Regions from separate parts of the Homo sapiens genome. Here region 2 is linked to region 1. The links are contacts of gene promoters, found by promoter capture Hi-C in human tissues and cell types (Jung and others, 2019). All regions are on one chromosome and are shown on one strand. The core of a region is centred on a gene start or on the middle of the fragment in contact, and the rest is flanking DNA. Distances in the headings are between cores, read along the strand shown. Region 1 holds the start of PKNOX1 (PBX/knotted 1 homeobox 1). Region 2 overlaps TRAPPC10 (trafficking protein particle complex subunit 10).

Region 1 (6,502 bases), core at 1,876-4,375:
ACTCCCAGCTACTACGGAGGCTGAGGCAGGAGAATCGCTTGAACCCGGGAGGTGGAGGTTGCAGTGAGCCGAGATCACGCCATTGCTCTCCAGCTTGGGCAACAAGAGTGAAAATCCATCTCAAAAAAAAAAAAAAAAAAAAAAAAAAAGTTGGAAGCAGCAGAGGCTGGTTCATGAGGTTTAAGGAAAGAAGCTGTCCCCATAACACGAAAGTACAAGGTGAAGCAGCAAGTGCTACCTAACAGAAAAGCAACACCAGGTTATCCAGGTCTAGCTAAGATCATTGATGAAGGCAGCGAGACGAAAAAGCAGATTTTCAATATAGACAAAAGACTTCCTTTGGAAGGAGATGACATCTAGGACTTTCATACCTAGAGAGAACTCAGTGCTTAGTTTCAAAGGGCAAGCTGGCTCTCTTGTTAGGGGCAAATGTCACTGGTGACTTTAAGCTGAAGCCAGTGGTCTTTGACCATTCTGAAAATCCTAGGGTTCTGAAGAATTATGTTACGTCTACTCTTGCCTGTGCTCTGGAAATGGAATAACACATTACTGAATATTTTAAACCCACTGTTGAGATCCACTGCTCAGAAAAAGATTTCTTTCAAAATATTACCGTTCACTGACAATGTACCTAGTCACCCAAGGGCTCTGATGGAGATGTACACAAGGAGATGAATGCTGTCTTCATGTCTGCTAACACCACATCCATTCTGCAGCTATGGATCCAAGGAGTAATCTTGACTTTCAAGTCTTAATTATTTAAGAAATACATTTTGTAAGGCTATAGCTGTGGTAGTGATTCCTCGCATGAATCTGGGCAAAGTAAACTGAAAACCTTCTGGAAAGAATCTGCCATTCTAGATGCCATTCATGATTCATGGAAGGAAGTCAAATAACATTAACAGGAGTTTGGAAGAAGTTGATTCTAACCCTTATGATGACTTGGAGGAGTTCAAGACTTCAGTGGAGGAAGGAACTGCAGATGTGGTGGAAATAATGAACAGTTGCTTCTTACGGATGAGCAAAGAAAGTGGTTTCTTGAAATGGAATTTATTCCTAGTGAAGACGCTGTGCACATTGTGGAAATGACAACAAAACATTTGGAATATCACATCAACTTAGTGGATAGCAGTGGCAGAGTTTGAGAATAGCCTCCAACTTTGAAAGAATTTTCACTGTGGTTAAAATGCTATCAAAACAGCATCACATGCTACAAAGAAGTCTTTCATGAAAGGAGGAGTCCATCAATGCAGTAAATTTCACTGTTGTCTTATTTTAAGTAACTGACACAGCCACCACCACCCTGATCAGTCAGCAGCCATCCACACTGAGGCCAGATTGTCAAAGTATAAAACAAGCAGGACTCACTAAAGGCTCAGATGATCATTAGTATTTTTAGCACTAAAATATTTTTTAATTAACGTAAGCACATTTTTATAGATATAATGCTTGCTATTGCACACTTTAAGTAGTATACTGTAATTACAACTTTCATATGCACTGAAAAACCTAAAACTGTTGCGTCACTTGCTTTACTGCAATACTTATTTTACTGCGGTGGTCTGGATTAGAACTCGAATTATCTGAGGTACGCCTGTGTACAAGGACAGGATTCACAAATCACTCTAAGTAAATTAAGCAGAGTGATGAAAGGCTCATTGGGGTCAGCCTGCCATCTTCCAAATTATGACTAAATGCAAGAGCATCACCAATAACTATACTGGCAGAGGTTCACATTTCACCTCGATTCTTCCTTATGTTTAGAGAAAGCCTATTTTTCAGTATGCCAGGAAAAATCATGAAAGTAGACCTAACTAAAGCTGGGGGTTTCTTTCATCCTGAAGAGGAACCACTTCCTAAGGAAAAATCATCTACTGTTTTAAAAAGCAAACTCTCGTAGAGTTGGAAGAGAACCCCACACACAGGTGGAACACCCCCCAGGGCTGCGGCCCCGCCGTGGCGCTCAGCCTGGCCTGCCCTGGGCCCGACCTCAGGACGCCGCCATTCCCGGACCCTCGGGCCTCCCGTCAGGAATCCGCCATCGGAACGGAGGCCCTAACTGGTCCCGTCGCAGAGCCACTGTCCAAATAAGGCATTTCGAGAGCCACGAGGATGACATAAAGCAGACTCCGCGTTTCTTCATTTTTCGTTAAGTGACACGATTTCCCTCACAAGGAAGGTGCAAACCCACAGGGCGCCCAGACCCTGCCCGGCACTTCCTGTCATCCATTACCACGACCCGTGTGACAGAAGCGGCTCTTCCCACCAATTCCCGGGACGCCGGAACCGCTTCCCCAGCACCCGGCCCCAAACACTGCCGTCAGCGAGCGGCCCTGGGCTGCTCCCGCGCCGGCGCCCGGCTGAGGGCCACGAGCCCCATCACGCCCACCGCCCCCAGGACCCCGACCCACCCGCTCGCCACGGCCGAGGCCGGGGCCGGGGTCGCGGCCGCCATCTTCCCGCCTGCGCCGCCGCGCGCCCCGCACCCTCCGAGCAGCCCCGCCGGCCCTGAGGACTCCGCGAGGCCGCGGACCCGACCGGCCCCACGCGCGCCGCCCGCCCCGGCCCCGCCCCGCCGCGCGCCCCCGACCCTCACGCCCGCCGCCCCGCCCGCGCCGGGCTCCGCGCGCCCCCGCCCCGCGCCGGGGCGCGCGCCGCACTCCGAAAGGGACGGTTAGGAGCGCGCGCTTCGATCAGGCCCAGCGCGGCGGCGGCGGCGCCTTCCAGAAATTTCCGCGTCCCTCAACCCACACTAAGAAACCAACTGGGCGCGCCCCCGCGCCGGTTGGGCTGAAGGCGCCCCCTCCCCCGCGGGTGCCCGCTCCCCTCCCCCACCCGCGCCCCCTCCCCGCCCCCTGCCCCGGGCGGCGGGTCAAATGCGGGCCCTCGAGGGCAGCGCCGGCCCTCCAGACCCGGGCGGCAGCGGCGGCGGCGGGCGGCGGCCGCGGGCCGGTGTGATTGATAGGGACGGCGGCGGCGAGAGCGGCGGCGGCGGCGGCGGAGCGGTTGAGTGACAGCTTACCTGGGTGCCAATCTTCATCACACTGACAAGCGGCTGCAGCAATCGGGACCCGCAGTGCCGCGCCCGCGTCCAACCGTCACGCCGACGCTGGGCCACGCGACACAGCCTCGCTCAATGGGAGGAGGGCGACGCCGACGCGCGCCGCATCAATATTCAGAGAGGGGGCGGGGCCTGCCGGAGACGGGCCCCGCCCCTCCCTGCGCGGCGGCGGGCGCGGGGCGGGGCCTGATCGCTGGGGGAGGAGAGCGAGGGCGGGAACCGGGCGGTGGCCGGCCCCGCCTCCAGCCCCGCCCGCACCCGGAGCTAGGCCGTGCCCCCAACCGGCCGCGCCCGAGCGCGAGGAGCTGTCTGCCCCGCCCCGAAGGCAGAGCCTCCCGCCTTATGACTATGCAGTAGGGGCGTGGCCTCAGCGCACGTCTTGCCCCCTCCGCGCCCTCGGTTGCCGCCCAGGAGAGGTGTGTGTAGCCGGGCGAAACCATTTGCCTCGAGCAGGCGGGGAGGGAGGGCTGTACCATCCGTAACCCCACCGCCGGGCGTCCCGTAGCCGAAGGCCTCCGTTCTGTGTGTGCCCGGTTTGAATGTAAGCCCGTGGGAGCCTCGCAGCCTTCCTCCCCAGGCTCTGGAGCCCGGGTGGGCCCGTCCTGGGCGGCACAGTGGATGCTCACGTGCCTCCCCCCCTGCGGCAGCGCGAGTGCTTAGCACCTGAGGCTTTACCCTGGGGGCTGTCTTCCCTCTGTGAGGACCCCAGCAAGGACTCATGATGTCCACAGGTGCTTAGGGGTGGCCTCTGGGCTACTTGGCCTCGCTTGACCACACCTTCCGGCCCAGGTGAGCCTTGCGGGTCTAGGTGACCAATGCGGCCTCCAGGTAAAGGGCACCTGCCTTAGGGGACGCCCACAAGTGTCTGCATTTCAAACTGCTTTGAAAGACCACCCTAACCGACCACTGCCACAATGTACCCACAAGTGCAGATGGTGGCTTTGGTCTCCAAGATGTAAGGAAAGGGCGACACATTCCCCACTGCGTAGGAAAGCACACGGTTTGCCTGACTGGCCTTCAATACTGCAGAAACATCCATTTATGCAGTGGCCCACCGAAGGCCATCAGTGCCTTGAGTCCATACACAGCGCGGGAAGGGCAGCTCTGTGGGCCCCCACTCCTCCCGGAAGGCAGACAGGCCCAGGACTGGAGCTGATTGCTAGAGGGAGCCTGGGGGTAGGTCTAGGCATGAACAGCTCGGAGGACATCCCTCCTGTGTCTTCAGAGCTCCACACCGCCAGGAGGTCTTGGCCAAGTGCTGTGCAGCTGCAGAGCCGCCTCTTTCAGAAAGATGGGAAGCAGCAGGGTGGGCAAGAGGGAGGCCCTGAGATACTTGCCCAAGGAGGGAAGTTCAAGGGGACAAAAAAAGCTCAGTATTCAAGACTGAGCATAATCTGCAGAGCCTAGTGCAAGATCCAGATGCAAGTGTCAATAGGTGTTGGAACAGAGAGACTCCACATGGGCTGGGTAAACTGAAGCTGAGACCTGCTGGGCCGCACCCCCCAGGAGTTAAGGCGTTCTTAGTAATCGGATGAGATAGGAGGTCGGAACAAGACACAGGTCACAAGGATCCTGCTGATAAAACAGGATGCAGTAAAGAAGCCGGCCAAATCCCACCAAAACCAAGATGGCGGGGAAAGTGACCTGTGGCCTTCCTCACTGCTGATTATACACTAATTATAATATATGAGCTTGGTAAAACACACTCTCGCCAGCGCCATGACAGTTTTCAAATGCCATGGCAACGTTTGGAAGATACCCTACATTGCCTAAAAGGGGTCGGGCGCAGTGGCTCACGCCAGTAATCCCAGCACTTTGGGGAGGCCAAGGCGGGCAGATTACTTGAGGTCAGGAGTTGAGACCAGCATGGCCAATATGGTGAAACCCCATCTCTACTAAAAATACCAAAAAATTAAGCAGGCGTGGTGGCATACACCTGTAGTCCCAGCTACTTGGGAGGCTGAGGCAGGAGAATCGCTTGAACCTGGGAAGCAAAGGTTGCAGTGAGCCGAGATCACGCCATTGCACTCCAGCCTGGGCAACGAGCAAGACTCCATCTCCAATAAATAAATAAATAAATGGAAGAGGAAGCCTAAGTTCTGGGAATTCCCCACCACTTTCCCAGAAAACTCATGAATAATCCACCCCTTGTTTAGCACGTGATCAAGAAATAACCAATATAATTCAGGAACGGATTCTAGGGAAAAAAAAAAGGACCATAAAAATAGCCAACCAGCAGCCCTTGGGGCTGCTCTGCCTATGGAGTAGCCATTCTTTGGTTTATTTACTTCTCTAACAAACTCACTTTCACTTTACTCTGTGGATTCTCCCTGAATTCTTTCTTGTGTAAACTCCAAGAACCCTCTCTTGGGATCTGGATTGAGACCCCATTCCAGTAAGACAAAGTCCCTGGCTCAGAAATTACAGTGAAGAATTTCAAGGCAGTGACAGCAGAACCTTACCCCAAGCCTGGGCCCTTCTCAGCAGGGGCAGGGGCCCTGTGACATGCTGTTCAGGCCCCTGGAAGCAGCCCGGGGCTCACTGGCCACACCTACACCTGCCCCCGGTCTGAAGCTTTCATTTATTTGCATCTGGCCTGTGAGACAGCAGGAGTTCCACAGGAGGACCTGAGCGCATGGTCACCCAGAGCCCAGGAAGCAGCTGCAGCAAGTCCAGGGCAGACAGAAGCCCAGGCCCTGCCATCCCACTCTGGGCCCAGAAGACTCTGGGGTCATCAGCTAGGTGCCTTCTCTGCCAGCTGCTTTGCCGTTTCACCCACCATGAGCGGCCACCCTTCTTTTTCTTCATTTCTGAAGTCTGTCTTCAGAAAAGGGGGAAAGGCCGGGATGTGTTGCCAGAAAGGGGGTCTTGATCCAGACCCCAAGAGGGGATTCTTGGATCTTGAGCAAGAAAGAACTCAGGGCAAGTCCATAAACTGAAAGCAAGTTTATTAAGAAAGCAAAGGAATAAAAGAACAGCTACTCCATAGGCCCACCAGTGGCGTGGCTGCTCAGTTGCTTATACTTTTTGTTTGTTTGCTTGCTTGTTTTTCTTTCCTGCCCTGCCTTCCTCCCCCGGCAGCTTATACATATATTGTTAGCTCTTGATTATATGCTAAACACAGGGTGGGTTATTCATGAGGTTTCCTGAACAGGGGTGGGAACTGAGGGTTCCTCCCCTTTTTAGGCCATATAGGGTAACCTCCTGCCATTGCCATGGCATTTGTAAACTGTCCTGACAGTGGTGGGAGTGTCTTTTAGCATGCTAATGTATTATAATTAGCATATAATGAGCAGTGAGGACGACCAGCAGTCACTTTCATCCTCATCTTGGTTTTGGTGGGATTTGGCCGGCTTCTTTACCTGTTTTATCAGCAAGGTCTTTGTGACCTGTGTCTTGTGTCCTCCTATCTCTCCCTGTGACTAAGAATGCCTTAACCTC
Region 2 (5,595 bases), core at 3,096-5,595, 1.1 Mb before region 1:
GAGGGAAGGAGAGAAGGAACTGTCTAGTTCTGTAATGAGTCAAGTACCTGAACCATGAAATATTCACAAAAGCTCCAGCCTGGCTCAGTCCTCTTCTCCCTCAAGGTTCTCATGTCATCCTCAAACTTGCCTAGGTTTTTGGTAAAAGACATAAGAAGCAATGTCCTGAGTTTGGTCAGGAAGGCATTCCAGGATTCCTGAGTTCGAGAAGAGTCCTTCAAGGGGTCGGAGAGCACAACACACCTGCAAAGACATGAACAGACTATCTGGGAAAGACCCTCCATGCACAGCACCACGACTCAGCAGCTGCCATTGTCCTGAGCGGCAATTTTCTTCCTTCCTCCTCCTTTTTTTTTTTTTTTTGAGACAGAGTTTTGCTCTGTGGCCCAGGCTGGAGTGCAGTGGCACAATCTTGGCTCACTGCAACCTCCACCTCCCAGGCTCCAGTGATCCTCCCCAGTAGCTGGGATCACAGGCACGCACCACCATGCCTGGTTAATTTTTGTATTTTTTTGTAAAGGTGAGGTCTTGCTATGTTGCCCAGGCTGGTCTCGAACTCCTGGGCTCAAACAATCCTCCTGCCTCGGCCTCTCAAAGTGCTGGGATTATAGGCATAAGCCACCGCATCTAGCTTCTTCCGTCTATAAACAGTCAAAAACATGAGGCAGGCGGTAAGAAACCAGGTTAGGAAAAGGCTTCATCATGAACTGGTCATGAACACGAGCAGTAAGTTCTACAGAAATTCAAAGGAGAGTTTGCTATAGAATCAACTGGAAAGGGGGAAAGGGATTTACATGAGCCCTGAGCCAAAGACGCAGCTCTGAGTCCTCTGTAAAATAATGTGATCACGCCTCACTCAGTTCCCTGCCTCCTTCAAAATCCATTTTGGTTCCTTGGGATCGACAGGATAAATTTAGATTTCTCAGCACAGCACAAAAGGACCACGATGTCTCACTTTACTTCCTCTGCTTCCCAGCTCAAGCCTGCTGACCTTCTCCCGCTCTCCTCTCTTCATGAGAACATTCCTTCCACCCAGGCGTGGCATCTTCACAAACCTCCCCCAATCACCATCCCAACTGCTCTGCCCACACTGCTGCTAGGCTGTGGGCCTCACAGGAAAACACTCCCCTTCTCTGGACCTCTATCCCTCCCACTAGCCTGTGAGCTCTTGAAGGGGAAGGTTAATAAACAATTAACAAATAAAGGCTTAGAACATGGCTTAACATATAGAGCAAACAGTTTAATTACAAAGAGGCTGAACCCATGATGTAAAAAGGTCAAACACACGAAATTACACAAAGTTCCCAACAGATTTGGACAAGGCAACGTATTTATCTGATAGGCTGGAAATGGTAAATTTCTTTAGCCTTGGTAATAGTAATCTAGAAAGATGATTAATAAATCTGAACTCAGAAATAATTTTAAAACATTGATTCTATGAGCTTCACCAGTTCTCCTTAGTAAATATTTTACTTGAATTACCAAAAAGTAGCAAAATGAACTGACTCTAAGTTCCTTTTTTCCGTGCCCCAGCATATCCTTTGGAGGCATGGCTAAATTCATGGAATTATAAATCAGTGGACAAAACAGTGAAGCAGCATACACTCTACATGTTCCACCATGTGAACAACCAGAACCAAGAAGAAAACTTATAACTTGGTGGCTGGCTTTAATTCCATTCAATCCACCCCACTGCACACTTTCTTCCCTCAAAGACAAAGGGACCAGAGCCGCTCACTCCAAAGGTCCCCCAGAGGACTAACTTGTATTTATCCACAGTAGGAGCTTGCTAGAACCTATGAGTTAGGTAGTTTATCCTTAAGGCATTCTCAAGGATTATAATTACCAACATTTATTCCCGACCAGACGCGAATTCTCCTGTGCGCCTACAGGGGTGAATGGAAATGGAAACTTAACAAGTGCCAACCACCAAAACAGTAACTGTTTTCAGAGGTCAATCAGATACACAGTCATGAAATGTCCTATCTCTATTAGATCCTGTTTCTATATCATCATCAATTTTTTTTAAGTAAAAAAGAACTACACTTCAGAAGTTCACATCAAGCCTAAATCATTAACTCAGAAAAGGAGAGCCCAAAACAACGAATGAAGTCAGGGATGGTGGGCCAATCTGGAGAGCGGCGTGATCCCCCCAGGCGCGCAGACTGCAGGGGCTGGAGGCACATGTGGAACAAGGGGCTCCCGGCTGCAGCCTCAGCGAGACACCACAACGGCTACTGCTGTCACAAGTCACACTGCTGATCACAAGTCAACCCTTGCCTCTACCAGCCTCGTAACTAGCAAAAGCCCAAAAAATGCACAAAATCTGTTACCAAGCAATTTTCCTTTAGGGAAGGTATCCTGAAATAATTAAGGATGCTCACAACATTTGAGCTAGAAAAGTATTCTAATATTGTTGTTTATAACGATAAGTAAGCAATAACCTAAGCCCAGCAGCAGAATGTATAAATAACTTACGGCACATTAATACTATGGAATATTATCCACTCACTAACACTGAGAGTCTGGAAATGCATTTATTGTTTGTGGAAAATCTTTACAATATATTGAGTGAAAAAAACAAGTATAAACAACACATAACGTTATATTAACTTAAAATACACACACGTATTATGTATGCATAAAGAAAAAAAGTCTCAGAACATACATACCAAAATACTAAGAGTTAATATCCATTTTCTTTTTGCTCATTACCTTTTTCTAATAATTCTACAATGAGCATGTACCTCCATCTGAACCCTCGCCACCATAAGCATGGTGACCATGGCTATAATGACCTGCTGGACCAGGGCAGGGTCCATGTTCGCCCCTGAATCCCCAGGCCTTGGGTGAGTTCCAGTGCTAAGCTACGAGATACAGACCATCGGTTATAGAGGAGTTAACGTGCTGGCTGGCTCAGCTGGCAATGGCATCACTGAAGAGAAAGGGAGTGAGCTACCCCAGGAGAGAGAGCAGGGCAAGGCGGAGAAAGCCCATACAATCTATTAACTGCCAAAGTTTCAGGATTCCCTTTCACAGTTTCTGAAGGGGTTAGGTCAGCATTTTATAACTTGTGTTCTTAGGAACTCTCAGGTGTTAAGGTAAAGAAAAAAACACAGGTGCCGTCATTTCAAAAAAAAAACAAAAACCTTTAAGGACCCGTTCTACAGAAGAACTGCAGGAGCTGCTGCTGTCAGTCTTCAGAAAGGACCCACCAAGAGGCCTCCCAGGACTATGGGCCCAAGACCCGCTCCTCCCAGGCAGCACACTCGGGGGATGACTGCTTCGAGTTCTTTGCCTGCCTAAACAGGAACTCCACAAGGACAGGCACCAGGTCTCCTTGACAGCACCCCATGGACACTCACTCGAGATTGCTGAGTAAATATTTATTACTACCCAGGAAGCCAGCAATCTGTATCATGTCAAGTATTAACCAAATGAGGTAAAATTAAAGATACACTTACCTGTCACTCTGTTTATTACAAAAATCATTTCTTATTTTGTCCACAATAGAGGTTCGGGGAAGGATGTTGGTTTTGTTTTTTTTCTTGGCATCATTTTCAACTATCACTATTAACCAGTCCACAGAGCTATGAGCCTTCAGAACATTCTGCCACTTGGTGAGGTCATCTTTTACTGTAGCTTTATACACTTCGGTATCCTAAAAACAAACAAGTCACTGTGAAAGCAGGTTAACTAATGCCCTTTAGTTTATACAGCAAAATGTGCCTAATAACAGCCTGCAAAGGCCGCAATGTTTTAAAGCATCAGGACAGGCTCGGGACTTAAATTGAATAAAAAGCCCAGCGGCCTAGCAAGCCTGCGGGCGTGCTCTGTGGGTCTCAGTGCCGCACACAGGCATGCATGATCCCCAGTTCTCACAACCCCAAGGGATGTGAGCGTCCCAGTGATCCAGATAAAGAGACTGAGAGTCAGAGGGTTGAGTGAGCTGCCCACAGCAATACTGTCTGTTAGGCAAGTCAGGGCTTTAAAACCCAGGCCCACTATGGCCAACAGCTCTGGGCCCAAGCACTACATGACTGCCATCCTGCTGTGTGCCGTGCCTTCATCTCAGGAGGCAAGCTGGCTGTCATGGCACAGCCCAGACTGCCCACAGGAACCCCAGGCAAGCTTCCCGGCAGCTTCTACCACAGCCTCTGAGCTCTGTACCCCTGGGAACCACCCCAACCGCAAGTCTGCGAAGGCCGTGTCAGAGGCAAGCAGCTACAGCTGTGAGACCTCAGAAAGAAGGCGACCTGCAGCTTCCGCAAGGCTGCTCTACTTCCCGACAGGCAGCAGGGAGCCGTGCCATCCCAGAAATCAATCCTGCTTCTCACGCAGAGGCCCAAGCATGAGCCTGCCAGAGAAAGGGCCCTTTCTACATACATGCCAAGGCCTTCAGCTTGGTTCTCTTCCATAAAGAACCAGGAAAACAGACACTTTGCCTGTTATCACTTATAACTGCGCTTCTATTCCATAAATCCACTCAGAAGAGTCCAACTCCCTTTAGATTTAGAAAATCTAAAACCAAGATACTTAATTCATTTCCAAGTTAGGCACTGACAATATCTGGACACAGTAACTCACAGCTACCATCTAAATCAGTGCTTTCTCCTCTTTTGCTAGTTCCTCACTGTCCTGCCCTAATTCCTCCGGACTTTCAAGTCACTCTTGAGTAACACTCAGGCAGAGAGAAGCCAATCAGAGTATCCACGAGTGAGTTAAATCTTAAATCCTGGCCAGGCACAGTGGCTCACACCTGTAATCCTAGCACTTTGGGAGGCTAAGGTGGGTGGATTGCCTGAGCTCAGGAGTTCAAGACCAGCTTGGGCAACATGGTGAAACCCCATCTCTACTAAAAATGGAAAGATTAGCCGGGCATGGCGGTGTGCACCTGTAGTCCCAGCTACTCAGGAGGCTGAGGCAGGGGAATTGCTTGAACTGGGAGGCGGAGGTTGTAGTGAGTCAAGATCGCACCACTGCACTCCAGCCTGGGCGACAGAGCGAGACTGCGTCTCCAAAAAAAAAATATTAAATCCTAAATTCTGTACCCAGCCTCTCTTTTGGTTTAACTAACTAAATAGAAAGTTCCAAAAGGCAGTACTTCTCATTTGTATCCTGATTTTAAAAACTGCTATGTCCTGATTTAAATTACAAATATCATACAATCTGAAAAGATCTTTTACTTTGAAAACTGAGATTAAAACCAACTGGTAAACTCAATTTCCTGCAAATAAATACCCAACAGTAACTTAATTATCTAGTGCACATTTTCCACAGCACGGCAGTTCTTGGGACTTGAAGCATAGATTTTACAGCACTGGTGAACCATTCTGTGCTGGAAGCCCCAACACGCCATGCCTGGAAGCAAAACCAAAAGGCCAACAGGGCCCAGAGCCTGTGACTGCCAAGAAAATACACATAGCACCCGGCTGACCCCATCCACACGTCACAGGTGAGCCATCCAAGGAGCTGCTGGAAGCCTCTCCACCTCTTACAAGGCCACCAAGAGCCCTTTAGCTGGACTCCTCCCCACCCCCACCCCAGAAGGAGTCCTGGCTCCAAGTTGTCCACACCGGGCAGGGGCTGCCACAT

What was found. Contacts are between HindIII fragments. The study calls those that stand out against the background at their distance.
Region 2: a fragment that was not itself captured here is called in contact with the fragment with the promoter of PKNOX1 in region 1 in 1 of the 25 tissues and cell types used here (spleen).

The regions. Positions count from the first base shown.
Region 1 is chr21:42,971,185-42,977,686 of GRCh38, reverse strand. PKNOX1 (PBX/knotted 1 homeobox 1) reads right to left here and starts at 3,125. Exons shown (of 11, transcript NM_004571.5): 1 at 3,023-3,125. RefSeq lists enhancers at 1,600-2,326, 5,449-6,208 and silencers at 2,288-2,487, 2,628-2,947, 3,078-3,467, 3,778-3,937. The HindIII fragment of the contact is 23,812 bases long and covers 1-6,502 here.
Region 2 is chr21:44,050,346-44,055,940 of GRCh38, reverse strand. It overlaps TRAPPC10 (trafficking protein particle complex subunit 10), which reads right to left. Exons shown (of 23, transcript NM_003274.5): 4 at 3,465-3,661; 5 at 48-243. Among named protein-coding and RNA genes, the nearest start is that of TRAPPC10, 41 kb to the right of the region's middle. The HindIII fragment of the contact is 8,976 bases long and covers 1-5,595 here.